2 separate regions of the Homo sapiens genome follow, and region 1 is linked to region 2. Evidence: promoter capture Hi-C in human tissues and cell types (Jung and others, 2019). All regions are on one chromosome and are shown on one strand. Each heading gives the region's core, a stretch centred on a gene start or on the middle of the fragment in contact. The rest is flanking DNA. Distances are from core to core; before and after follow the strand shown. Region 1 has its middle 7.2 kb from the start of COL5A1. Region 2 holds the start of GLT6D1 (glycosyltransferase 6 domain containing 1).

What was found. The method cuts DNA at HindIII sites, captures the fragments that hold promoters and counts their contacts. A contact is called where the count stands out against the background at its distance.
Region 1: a fragment that was not itself captured here is called in contact with the fragment with the promoter of GLT6D1 in region 2 in 1 of the 25 tissues and cell types used here (dorsolateral prefrontal cortex).

The regions. Positions count from the first base shown.
Region 1 is chr9:134,631,002-134,638,149 of GRCh38, reverse strand. No RefSeq gene overlaps it. Among named protein-coding and RNA genes, the nearest start is that of COL5A1, 7.2 kb to the left of the region's middle. The HindIII fragment of the contact is 7,228 bases long and covers 2,048-7,148 here.
Region 2 is chr9:135,634,977-135,641,634 of GRCh38, reverse strand. It overlaps GLT6D1 (glycosyltransferase 6 domain containing 1), which reads left to right and starts at 2,095. Exons shown (of 5, transcript NM_182974.3): 1 at 2,095-2,342; 2 at 2,442-2,518. The coding sequence starts at 2,448. The HindIII fragment of the contact is 10,839 bases long and covers 1-6,658 here.

The sequences.
Region 1 (7,148 bases), core at 4,412-6,911, 1.0 Mb after region 2:
CTCCCTGCCGCTGGGCACTCATCCTCTTCTGCCTCCTCCAAGCCCCCTGCCGCCTTCCAGGGCTTCACCTGCTTACCTGCATCATCTCATTCAATGGAGCAACAACCCTTTGAGGCAGGAGGAAGCTGAGGCTCGGAGAGGTGAAACTATTTGCTGGAGGCTGAACAGCAAGGGTGTGGCTAAACCCAGTAGCCCGGAACGCAGCCCTTAACCACCGTGCAGCCTGCACACCAGCAGCAGAGCAAACCAAGGAGGCGCCGGGTCCGAGGGCCGGCCCGCGGCTGACCGCATGTCCTGCCGGTTCCAGGGGCCCAGACCCCCACTGGCCCTAGTTTACCTTCTGACCCATTGGCCTTGACCACTGCTCCATGTGAGCTGTGGCTTCTCAGCAGACCAGAGGCCACCGCTGTGCCCACAGAGCCAGCAGGACTCTCCCTACGTACTGGAGCGGGGCAGATGGGAGGGAGCCCCTTTCAAGCCAGCACTCTCTTTGAAAAATTACTTGGGGAAGGCCGCCACTTTAAAGCCCTTGGACAAAGCATGTCCTTCATTGCCTTGTTTTTGCAGCCTTCTTCAGCCTGTGTCTGCCAAGTGGAGAGTAGAGGAGAGGGTGAGAGAGGGGCCGGGGCCATGCCCCAGGTCACCAGGCTTCCCGGGTGTGTGAGTCAGCTCGGCGGCCACAGCAGAGTGCCACAGATGGGGCAGCTTAGACAGCAGGGATTTATTCCCTCACAGTCCTGGATGCTGGAAGTCCGAGGTTGAGGTGACGGCAGCACTGGTTTCAGCCAAGGCCTCCCTCCTCGGCCTGCAGTCGGCACCATCCCCCCATGCCCTCACACGGTCATTTCTCTGTGTGTGTCTGCGTCCTCATCTCCTCTTCTTTCGGGAACCCCAGTCAGTTGGATGAGAGCCCACCCTAATGATCCCACTTAAACTTAATTATCTTGTTAAAAGCCCCATCTCCAATCACAGCCACATTCTGAGAGGCAAAGCTTCAATGTACGAATTTTAGGGGGACACAATTCATCCCCCTAAAACTGGATTCCTGCAAAACAGTCCCAGTCCGTGGGCCTTTAGCAGAAATCTGAGGATTGAGGGGCTCTGTTTTCTGGCACAGTAGAGACTTTTACCCACCTAGGTGCTCTCTTATTGTGGATTCTCACACCCCAAGGCGGGGGCAGGGGTGAGGGGTGCAGACTCTGGCCAGTGGCAGGGGACCCTGGCCAGTGGGAGGGGACTCTGGCCAGTGAGAGGGGACCCTGGCCAGTGAGAGGGGACTCTGGCCAGTGGGAGGGAATTCTGGCCAGTGGGAGGGGACTCTGGCCAGTGAGAGGGGACCCTGGCCAGTGGGAGGGGACTCTGGCCAGTGAGAGGGGACCCTGGCCAGTGAGAGGGGACCCTGGCTTCTGATGAATGTGTACCACCCTGTCTCCTTGTCCCTCTAGCACATAGGCTGAACCTCTCCTCGGTGGCACTGTCCACCATGGGTGTGAGAGTGGGGCCAGCTGGAGGGCCCAGAACACCAGTGCAGATGCAGCATCTCCTCCAAAAGGCTCCAAGCCCACTCCAGAGTCTCCTCTCTTTGCTTCCCTCCCCACAGCAAATTGCCCTCCCCTTTCTGTGAGTGAGGTGCCCCTGCCCATGCTGCCTGTTAGGAGCACATTCTGTTCTGGATATGAAGGTGTGCATGTGAATAAGTCAGTCTTTGGGACAGATGTGTCTGGGAGCAGGTGTGCATGGGAGCAGTGGTGCACAGGGGCAGGTGTGTATTGGAGCAGGTGTGCATGGGGCAGGTGTGCACTGGAGCAGGTGGGCACAGAAGCAGGTGTGGCTTGGGGCACACAGTCAAGCATGGTAGGTGGGGGCACAGGCCTTGGGACACTGTGTAGTCACATCTGTGTATACCTCTGCTTCCGGAGAAGCAGCCGTGGGTCTGACCCCAGTCTCCCCAGTCCAAGCCTGCAGCCTGTGCTCCATCTAGATGTGGGTGAGAGGGGGTGGGAGGGGGTGAGAGAGGGTGAGAGGGGGTAGGAGTGGGTGGGAGGGGGTGAGAGGGGGTGAGAGGAGTGAGCTGGGAAGAACCCAGGCAGGCTGTGGTCCAGTGAACTCCAGGCCCCATGATTCCATTGAAAATGCAATCCGCTGACTCAGTGGTTTACTTGAAGCCCTTCCCCCGCACCTGAACTTCTACCACTTTGTGAAGCTGAAGCCTCTTCCTCTTCCCCAACCCTCAGCCTTCCCCAACCCAGAGTCCAGCAGAGGAGCTGTTCTCCTCCCAGAGCTCCCATCCCGGGACACCACGGTGCCAGGACCCCCAGCCCAATTTATCAAGCCACACAAGCAGGACCAGACACAGCTGGCCCTGGCATCTGATCAAACATATACACGCAGCTGGAGGTTGGAGGCGCTTTTCATCATGGCGGCTTCTCAAGCATGGCGGCTCATGCTCTTTATCATGGTCTGATGGAGGGCCAGGAAGCAGGGCTCTCAGCAGCTGAGGGGCTGCCCCTCCTTCAAGCCCAGGGACAGAGCAGCATAAATCACCAAGGGATGGAGCCGTGACATCGATGGCTGAAACAGCCTGGCTGTCCCTTGGCTGCGCCTGGCCCTCCCATCTCACTGGCCCTCCCATCTCACTGGCCCCGCTCCGCTGTGCGGCACAGCTCTGTTTCCATGTCATGTCCACGAAGGCCTGGTTTTACTGGACCTGGATATCCCATCAGGTGCCAAGTAAACCCTGCAAAATAATGGAATTTCCAGGCGAGAGAGCCCATGACGAACACCAAACAGACTTTAGATATATAGAGTGAGTTCGCAATTAATTCGGGCCACAGTGTGCCAAGGCACATTTCCAAACTGGGCCTGGATTGGCGTGTCATCCTCCAGGAGAATATATTAGAGATAAAGGTTGAGTTTACAGCCCAAAAGAAATGTCAGTTGGAAAGGTCCCCGCTATTAAATCTTTTAAAGAACCATCTGCATAGGTGGAAAGAGATGCCTCCCACTCAATGGGCTGTTCCCCGGGAGTCAACAAGATCACCCTGGTGAAACAGCTTTTGAGGGTGTCTGTGACGATTCCCCACCTAGGGATCTCACTGAAGCTTTCCCACCATCCGACGAAGGTGAGGGCAGGCATGACCTCAGAATCTGGAGCAAGCGGCGTCCTGGATATGAGTCTGCCTCAGCAAGGGGCCTGAGGCTGCAGCCTCCCCACGCTGGCTCAGGTTCTCCTCTGGAAAGTGGGGACCGCAGTGCACCCCTGCATAGGATGCTGTGGAGGTTATCCGAGATAACACACAGACTGTGCCGGGCACAGAGCACAGGCTCAGAAAAGGCTCCATCCGTCCTGCTTCCGGCAGCTTCATGATCGACTGGGGAAACAGAGTCTCAGAGGGTGAAACCACTTAACTCGGAGGTGTAGGAATTGGAGACAGCCCCACCCCATCTGGGCACAGAGCTCTTTCCATGACCAACTGCCCCAGCGACGCTCCAGGACGCCACGAGCATAAGGCAGTGGTACCAGCAGAAATGCCTGTTAGCTGAAGGCTTTCTCAAAAAGTCAGGAGCCAGTGCTCCACACTGTGGAGGGGGGTTGGCCCAGACCCCCTCAGGGCCCAGACTCCCCTGGCCTCTGTCAAGAGCATGGTTTGCTGACAGCCAACAGCTGAGTTCCTTGCCTAAACTACCTTTTACTGGAGGTTAGACCCCATCCCTGCTCAAGGGCAGCCCACACCCAAGGACCGGTCAGGAAGAAGGTTCCAGATCCTGTCCCTTTTCCTGAATGTGGGACAACTCAGAAGGGCCGTCCCTGCTTCCGAGTCCTGCGGTCGGGGGGCTCCATGAGGCCTCTGCAGAATGCATGCACCTGCGCCCCGGCTTGCTGCCCTCGCCCCCACAGGCCTTGTTTCCAGAGTCCGCCTAGAAAACCCAGAGCCTCAGAGTCAGCTACCAAGGACCCTGACATAAACACTGTCCTCCTAGACACTTCTCCCTGCAGACAGGGGTCAGCAGGGCCCAGGTTCAGGGCCCAGGGGTTCAAGAAGTAGGGACGCTTGTGGGAGCACGTCCCAAAAGGATACAAGAGGAGGAGGGGCATCTTGGGGCCAGGTGCCACCCCTCACTGATGCCATCCTGGACTCTTCTCCCCCTGCAGAGGGAATGCACATGCCCAGGCCCAGAGGAAGCCACAGAAGGCCACTCCAAGGAGGCTGTGATGGAACAGGGAGGAGGTGGCCTGGGGGCTGAGGGGCTGGAGACAGGAGGGTGGAGCGGCTGGCACAGGGACAGGAGAGCGGGGTGGCTGGCACAGGGCAAGTCAGTCTAGGCAGGGAGTTTGTATTCTTCCCAAGGAGAATGGGGATGCGTAGAGGGTTTTAAGAGGAGAAGGCTATGTCATACTTGCATCCTGGAAAGATCTCTGACTTCAGTGTTGAGGATTGCTTAGAGGAACAAGAGGTGGGGCTCAAGTCAGAGGCAGCTATGGTTTCCAGGGAGAGGGGAGACGGGTGGGATGCCTTCCAGTACACGGTGGAGGAGGAATCGGCTGGGACTCGCCAGCAGCAAGGGCAGCGGTGCCCAGGACCCCGCCCAGGCTGTGCCTCTCATCATTTGAAGGCCTTTGCCTTGGACACTGTCAGCTGCAGAGTGCACCTCTGGCCAGGCCCCCGCGAGGTAGGCACTGTGGCCCTGCCTGTTCCCAGACGTGGTGTATCAGTCTGTTCCCACACTGCTATGAAGACATATCCGAGACTGGGTAATTTATAAAGAAAAGGGGTTTCATTGACGCACAGTTCCGCATGGCTGGGGAGGCTTCAGGAAACTTACAATCATGGCAGAAGGCACCACTTCACAGAGCAGAAGGAGAGAGAATGTGTGCTGGGCAAAGCGGGGAAGCCCCTTATAAAACCATCAGATTTTGCGATAACTCACTCACTATCAAAACGACAGCATGGGGGAAACCACGCTTATGATTCAATGACCTCCACCTGGTCCCGCCCTTGACGTGTGGGGATTACTACAATTCAAGGTGAGACTTGGGTGGGACACAGAGCCAAACCATATCACATGGGAACCATGGACCCCATCACTCAGGACCCTGTGCAGGGCCTCCCACAGGGAGCAGAAAACAGAGTCTATCCAGGAACCTCTCTCGGATATTGTTTTCCATACCATCACCTCCTTCTCATGGTCTCACACATGGCAACCACCCACCCCCCATTCTCCTGGCCCTTGGCACTAACTTCCCTGTGAGGGAGGCAAAGGCCGCAGTTCCCATTTCACAGATAAAGAAACTGAGGCCTTGAGATAGGACTGATTTGTCTCAGGTAGGAAACCAGCGCATCTGCCCGGGTCTGGCAAGAGCCCCTGCGAGTGACCTATGAGATTCAGATGGCGCGTTCTTCCCTCAGAGAGGCAGGGCTGCCTGCTGGTTACACACACCCTAACCATACTTCCTGGCCCACTTACGTCAAGCCTCATCAAAAATCCCCATCCATGGGGCCTTGGGGACCCCCTTCCTGAGCCGGGTGCTAAGAGGTTTCATGGATTCACTGTCTCATCCATCCCCTCACCATGGCCATGCGGTGGGAGCCGACAGACACTGAAGACCTGGGGTGTTACATGGCTTTGGGAAAGTCATTCTGCAATTTGAACAGGGTCCCCCAAGTGCAGGGAGCTCACCATGACTTTTGGGCTTCACTGTGGGATGCATATTTACATGCATCCTGGCCCCCGGGCAGACCCTGAGAATACACGGCCGCTCATCTGGGGTAAGGCCTGAGGCTGTTTGACGTCATGCGAGCACACCCTCTGCCTCTCAGGGCAGTGTTCAGGCGGGACAAGGATGCCCTGCTCATTGGCTGAAACAGCCAAGCTTCATTTGTTAAAAATTCTAGTCCTTGAGCCACGCCAACTTCATTATGGTCCTTGCCTCGGAGTCCTGGAGCTGCCATAAGAAAATACCACAAACAGCGAGGCTTAAAACAGCAGAAATGTTTCTCTCCCGGTTCTGGAGGCTCGAGACCTAGATGTTGCAGGGTCACGTGCCTCAGAGGCTCCTCCCTGCCTGCTCCGGTCCTGGCGGCTCCAGGCCTTCCTTGCGTGGCTCCAATCTCTACCTTCGTTTCACACCACCTGTCTTCAGGGCATGCTGTTGTTTTGGCCTCCTCTGCCTCCATCTTACAAGGACACCTGGGATGGTATTTAGGGCCAGGCCAGCCTGGCTAATCCAGGAGGATGTCCTCATTCATCTCAGGTCCTTAAGCTGATTGCATCTGCACGGACCTTTTTTCAAATAAGTCCATCTTCACAGGTTTGGGGTCTGGGACATGGGAGTATATTTTGGGAGCCACTTTCCACCCCGTATTAGTCAGAGTTCCCTAGAGGGACAGCACTAATAGGGTAGCTGTACATATGAAGGGGATTTTATTAAGGAGAATTGACTCACGCGATCACAAGGTGAAGTCCCACCATAGGCCATCTGCAAGCTAAGGAGCCAGGAAGCCAGTGTGAGTCCCAAAACCTCAAAAGTAGGGAAGCCCACAATGCAGCCTTCAGTCTGTGGCCGAAGGCTCAAGAGCCCCTGGCAAATCACTGGTGTAAATCCAAGAGTCCAAAAGCTGAAGAACTTGGAGTCTAATGTTCAAGGGCAGGAAGCATCCAGCATGGGGGAAAGATGGAGGCCAGAAGACTCAACCAGACTTTTCCTTCCATGTTCTTCTCCCTACTTTCTCCTGGCCATGCTGGCAGCTGATTAGATGCTGTCCACCTGGATTGAGGGTGGGTCTGCCTCTCCCCGTCCACCGACTCAACTGTGAATCTCCTTTGGCAACACCCCCACAGACACGCCCAGGAACAGTACTTTGCATCCTTCAATCCAATCCAGTTGACACTCAATATTAACCATCGCAATGCACTACATTCCAGGACACAATAAAAGAGGCCTCTGTACCCCACGTCTTCCTGTGCTCTCCAGCTTTGGAGGCTGAGAAGACAGTGGGGTGGAGACAGCCATGGTTTGGAGCAATGGGGGGTAAATGGTGCCTGCTGTGCACCTGGGTGTTGGGGGCAGAAACCTGTCTCCAACAGGAGGCTTCAAGCTGGCAAGAACACGTGGGGAGCTTGGTCAGAGGCTGCGTGCGGTGGCGCAG
Region 2 (6,658 bases), core at 846-3,345:
GATTCTCGCTCTGTTGCCCGGGCTGGAGTGCAATGGCATGATCTTGGCTCACTGCAACCTCTGCCTCCTGGGTTTAAGCGATTCTCCTGTTCTCAGCCTCCCAAGTAGCTGGGATACAGGCACCCACCACCATGCCCGGCTAATTTTTTGTATTTTTAGTAGAGACAAGGTTTCACCATGTTGGCCAGGCTGGTTTTGAACTCCTGACCTCAGATGATCTGCCCACCTTGGCCTCCCAAAATGCTGGGATTACAGGCATGAGCCACCGCACCCGGCCTACCCTTTAATTTTTCAAATGGGACAAAGTCTTGTCCTCATAACCATGGGAAGAACCTGTGGGCAGAGGCATCACTGTGACGCTTGCATCATCAAAGGTGCCCAGTGACGTCAGCACCAACGGAAGACTCCAGCGCTAGGAGAGCAGTAGATGGCAGCTGGTTTGTGACACGACACAGACCAAAAGATATGCTTAGAAGATCCCTGTCCCTGTGGAACATCTTTGGCCATCTCTTTGCATCACTCTAACCCAAGGTAAAGGACTTTTAAAGAGGGATCTAGGAAAGTTTGGATGATTGTGGTAAAATCAGGGTTTGGGTCATCCTCTAACCTTGACCTCAGAAAGATATTGACAGACAGGCAGCTCATCAACATACAGCTAGTAGCATGCCCAGGGATGATGTCATGGAGGAGGGCACACTGCTGTAGAGAACCTGGCTAGATGGGCCTGTCTTACCCCATCCACATGGCATTTCTAGTGATCTTGAACTTAAAAGGTGGTCAGTTTCCAATTGCAGAGGTACAAGAACTGGGCCCAACCGAAGCCTGCCCAGGAAGGGATTATATGAAGAACTGCCCCATAGAAATATAATGTGAGCCACATTTTCTTTCTTTCTCTCCTTTTTTTCTTTTTTTTTTTAGATGGAGTCTTGCTCTGTCACCCAGGCTGGAGTGCAGTGGTGCGATCTTGGCTCACTGCAACCTCCGCCTCTTGGGTTCAAGCGATTCTGCTGCCTCAGCCTCCTGAGTAGCTGGGATTACAGGCGTGAGCCACCACACCTGGCTAATTTTTGTATTTTTAGTAGAGACGGGGGTCTCACCATGTTGGTCCTGCTGGTCTTGAACTCCTGACCTCGTGATCCTCCCCCTTCGACCTCCCAAAGTGCTGGGATTACAGGTGTGAGCCACCACGCCCAGCCTGTGAGCCACATTATCAATGTCCGGTTTCCTAGTAGCCACATTACAAACAGTAAGAAGAAACAGGTGAATTAATTTTCATAATTTATTTCTCATTTAACTCATTCTTTCCAGACTATGACACCCAGACTGTTACCGTTTCACCTGTGATCGATGTGAAGTTATGAGTGAGATGGTAAATTATTTTCTTTCGCACTGTGTTTGACTTTGAGACCCCATGTGTTTTGTACACTTGCAGCTCACCTCATTTCACAGCAGCTGCATTTCACACACTCGGGACCACATGTGGCAAGTGGCTACTCTATGGCTATCAGTGCAGAGCTAAAGTGTCATGTTTGTTAAATGAGTGTTCAAAATTGAAAATCACTGGAAGGCTGAGGTGGGCGGATCACCTGAGGTCAGCAGTTTGAGACCAGCCTGGCCAACATGATGAAACCCCGTCTCCACTAAAAATACAAAAATTAGCTGGATGTGGTGGCTGAGGCAGGAGAACTGTTTGAACCCAGGAGGCGGAGGTTGCAGTGAGCCAAGATTGTGCCACTGCACTCCAGCCTGGCAGACAGAATGAGACTCCATCTCAAAAAAAAAAAAAAAAAAAGTGAAAATCAGAGAATCAGAGACCTGCATTTTGTGTGGACACACAGCGCAGTGGCGTGTTCCCTATGGGCTTGTAAACCAAATCCCACGTGAAGCCTCCAACACAAGCTCAGGCACTGGTGAGAGTCCAGACTTCCATTGTAAAGTCTAATGCCTTTAATGTAGACTTCATTCTCCGTTTACAAGATCTACCTTTGAGAGCACTTGTAAATTTTTAGACTGGCATAGTCTTGGAACAAATTATTCATCTTACTATCTTAGTGAGGAAGAAAGAATAAAAAGTCGACTTCGGGGGCAGAATACATTCTCCTAGATCAAGAAGACTTCCTCATCAAGACCTCATTCTATTTGCACAGCCCTGCAGTGGAGAGATTTATTGCGTTTCTTTCATGCAATCAACGCAGACTTTGATGTGAACACGGGGAGAGACAGTGCACGTGCAGCTGACCCACGGGGAACAGTCAGCCCCGGGCACTTGAAGGAGAACAGAGGCTTCCCTAACTCAAGTCGCTGTCTCCTGCCAGCTGAACATTCTAGAAGCAACCTCTAAGGTTGGTGTCCAATGCCCATACATTAACCCATTGTTAGATGATGACAAATATGTCATTTTTTATTGCTTAAAATCTAATTTTTTCTCCTTCTTTCCCTAGGAGAGAATGAATTCTAAAAGAATGCTGTTATTGGTTTTATTTGCTTTTTCACTGATGTTGGTTGAGCGTTATTTCAGGTAAATATAAAGTATTGATAAATCATGATCTTTAGTGATTGGCAGAGGTGGTTTTAATTTAATTAAATTAATTAATTTAATTTTTGAGACAGGGTCTTACTCTGTTGCCCAGGCTGGAGTGCAGTGGTGCCATATTAGCTCACTGCAGCCTTGACCTCCCAGGCTCAAGTGATCCTCCCACCTCAGCCTCCTGAGTAGCTGGGACTACAGGCACATGTCACCACAAACAACTGATTTTTGAATTTTTTTTGTAGAGACTTATGTTGTCCAGGCTGGCAGAGATAATCTAAACTGCTGAGTTTTGTCCAAAGATATCAATACTACTCTCTAAATAAATCAGAAGTTACTTTCTCTTTGTGGGACAAAGGAAAATATACATATTTTAATTATTTCATTGTTAAACATTCAACAATTATTTACAGAGTGCCTTCTAGGTGCCAGGCTGTATTCTAGGTGCTGGGGATGCAGTGATAATGAAAGTGCCTGTCCTCAGGGAGCTTTCATTCTATTTGGAGAAGGTAGACAATAAATACACATAAAAGACAATGCCAGGGATATAATATTTTATAAAACAAGCATAATAAAAAATAAAGGTGACAATGCCATTTTAGATGAATTATAAACTATCTCAAGTTTCCATCTTTGTGTTTAATATAAATAATACTAAAGGTTCCATCTTTGTGTTTAATGTAAACAAGACTAAAGTCAACCTAATTCTATGCATATAGAAGCATGTGTACTAGAGGACGCATCTGTAAACCTGCTGGTATGGTTTGGCTCTTTCCCCACCCAAATCTCAACTTGAATTGTATCTCCCAGAATTCCCACGTGTTGTGGGAGGGACCCGGGGGAGGTAATTGAATCATGGGGGCTGGTCTTTCCCATGCTATTCTCATGATAGTGAATACGTCTCATGAGATCTGATGGGTTTATCAGGGGTTTCCACTTTTCCGTCTTTCTCATTTTCTCTTGCCGCTGCCATGGAAGACATGCCTTTTGCCTCCTGCCATGATTCTGAGGCCTCCCCAGCCATGTGGAACTGTAAGTCCAATTAAACCTCTTTTTCTTCCCAGTCTTGGGTATGTCTTTATCAGCAGCGTGAAAACAGACTAATACACCTGCTAATATTTTCCCGTCTAGAAAAACTCAAATTCTAGCTTTCTCCATACCACTCCTCATGGTCTTCTTCATAAGCAATGCAGTGTTTCCAGAGGCTATTTGAACAGCAGTAGTATCATGACAGATAATAGTTTTTAAAAATGAAAGCTTTGCACAACATGTATCTGGTAAGGGACTTGTACCCAAAATATGCAAAGAGCTCTTAAAATTCAACAATAAGGAAACAAACACCTAAATTTAAAAATTAAATATTGACATTTAAAACATTTAAAAATGAGCAAAAGAACTGAATAGAATCTCACAAGAGAAGATATACAGATGGGAAATAAGCGAACGCCAAGATGCTCAGTCTCATTTGTCATCAGGAAATTGCAACGAAAACAAGGAGATACCACTACACACCCATTAGAACGGCTAACACCCAAAAATCTAAAATCTGAAAACCAGCTTCTGGTGAGGAAGTGGAAGGACAGGAACTCTCATTCATTGCTGGTGGGAATGCAAAATGTTACAGGTACTGTGGAAGACAGTGTAGCAGTTCCTTAGAAAGCTAGATAGAGCCTTATCATGCCACAGAGCAACTGTGCTCCTAGGCATGTAGCCAACTGATTAAAACACTTATGTCCACACAAACCCTGCACAAGATGTTTATAGAAACTCTATTCATAAATGCCTCAAACCACTAACATACTAGATGCCCTTCAGCAGGTGGATGATAAACAAGCTGTGGTTCATGAAGTGCTCAAAACCAGAAACGAACAAGACGACTTTCAATAGGAGAAGGATAAACATGCTGTGGCTCATCTGTGCAACGGAATAACACCCAACAGTAAAAAGAAATGAGCTGGCCGGGCACGGTGGCTCATGCCTGTAATCCCAGCACTTTGGGAAGCTGAGGAAGGTGGATCACCTGAGGCCGGGAGTTCGAGACCAGCCTGACCAACATGGAGAAACCCCATCTCTACTATAAATACAAAATTACCTGGGCATGGTGGTGCATGCCTGTAATCCCAGCTACTCAGGAGGCTGAGGCAGATGAATCACTTGAACCTGGGAGGCAGAGGTTGCGGTGAGCTGAGATCACGCCATCGCACTCCAGCTTGGGCAACAAGAGTGAAACTCCATCCCCCCAAAAAAAAGAAAAAAAAGAAATCAGCTATCAAGCTGTTAGAAGACATGGAGGAACCCTAAATGCATATTGCTGAGTGCAAAAAGCCCATCTGAAAAGGCTGCGTGCTGTATAATTCTCATGTGACATTCTGGAAAAGGCAAAACTATATTGGCAGGAAAAAGATCAGTGGTTGCCATGGGGTGGAGGTGAGGGAGGGGATGAATAGGTGAAGCACAAAGGAATTTTGGGGGGCAGTGAAACTGTTCTGTATGACAGTGTAACCATGGACACATGTAACTTTGCATTTGAAAAAAAACCCACAGGACGTTACAGCACGAAGAGTGAAATTAACATATGTAAATTTAAAAAATTAGCTAGGAGGTTCGAGGTATCCTAGGAAGCAATGCAGACTGTGAGAACATAATCTATATCCCAAATGTACAGAACAATCCCACTGGAAGGGGTCAGGGAAAAAGCTGCTGACCTAAAATAACTTAGGAATGAGTGGAGTTTTTTTTGTTTTGTTTTGTTTTGAGACAGAGTCTCACTCTGTCACCCTGACTGGAGTGCAGTAGAGCGATCTCAACTCACCACAACTTCTGCCTCCTTGGTTCAAGCGATTCTCCTGCCTCAGCCTCCCTAGTAGCTGGGACTACAGGCACATGCCACCAGGCATGGCTAATTTTTTATTTTTAGTAGATATGGGGTTTCACCATGTTGGCCAGGCTGGTCTCAAACTCCTGACCTCAGGTGATCCGCCTGCCACAGCCTCCCAAAATTCTGGGATTACAGGTGTGAGCCACAGTGCCCAGCTGGGTATGAGTGGAGTTTGAAAGTAAAGGCAATAGAAACTGTACATGAGCACTGTACATGTATTTGGGTCAATAAAGGTTTTTTCCCACAGGAATATGAGTTAACAATTCTGCTGCTGCTATACATGTATATTTGAATCAATTAAATAAATGGATGAGGCATGGGGGAGCAAGTTTCTTGCTGTTGGAGGGAACTTCATAGTTAAGCAAGAGAGGGGGCCACAGTGATCCACGTGGGAATGGATTGAAGCTGGAGACCTCAGCGTGAACTCACGTTTACCTTACTATGAACAGAGACATTTACGTGTCAACGTGTTTAAAGATATGTGGAAATACGCACAGGTTAGTGTCTATTTCCTTGCTCTGTTAGCTGAGAGGGCCTCGGAGGAAGGACACCCTGGAAGCAATGAGCACACCTGGTACCCAGATCTTGGCTTCTAGCACCATTCTCCAGGAAAGCAGCAGATCGTGGTTTCTAGCACCATTCTCCAGGAAAGCAACAGATCTTGGTTTCTAGCACCATTCTCCAGGAAAGCAACAGATCTTGTTTCTAGCACCATTCTCCAGGAAAGCAGCAGACCTTAGTTTCTAGCACCATTCTCCAGGAAAGCAACAGATCTTGGTTTCTGGCACCATTCTCCAGGAAAGCGACCAAGGCTTCTTGGAGAAGTGGATGGTTCTAGATTCGGACAGGAGATTTACAAGATGAGCCCAGAGCATCTCATAGTGCCAGGAGGGATGGAAGGGATTTTTTTTACAAATTCTATATTGAAGGGAGTATGTCACTTAAATGGGACATGGGAGCTAACTGGGAGAGCTCCCGATGGCCAAAGCTGAAGCCTTTTGAGCAAGAAAAGAAAGTAACATTGAATTATAACCCAAAGTATGAAACGAACTTCCACAAGTTCATACTGATGTAAATGAATGATTGGAGGAGCAAAAAGAAGGAAGAAAGGAAGGAAGACAGGTTGGCTGGATGTTGGAAGGATAGAAGGAAGGAAGAAGGGAGAAGAGACAAATCTCCCATATGCAGAAGAATTCCAAATCATGTCTGTAGATTCTCCACTACCAACGACACAGAACCTGACGCCCCAGTCC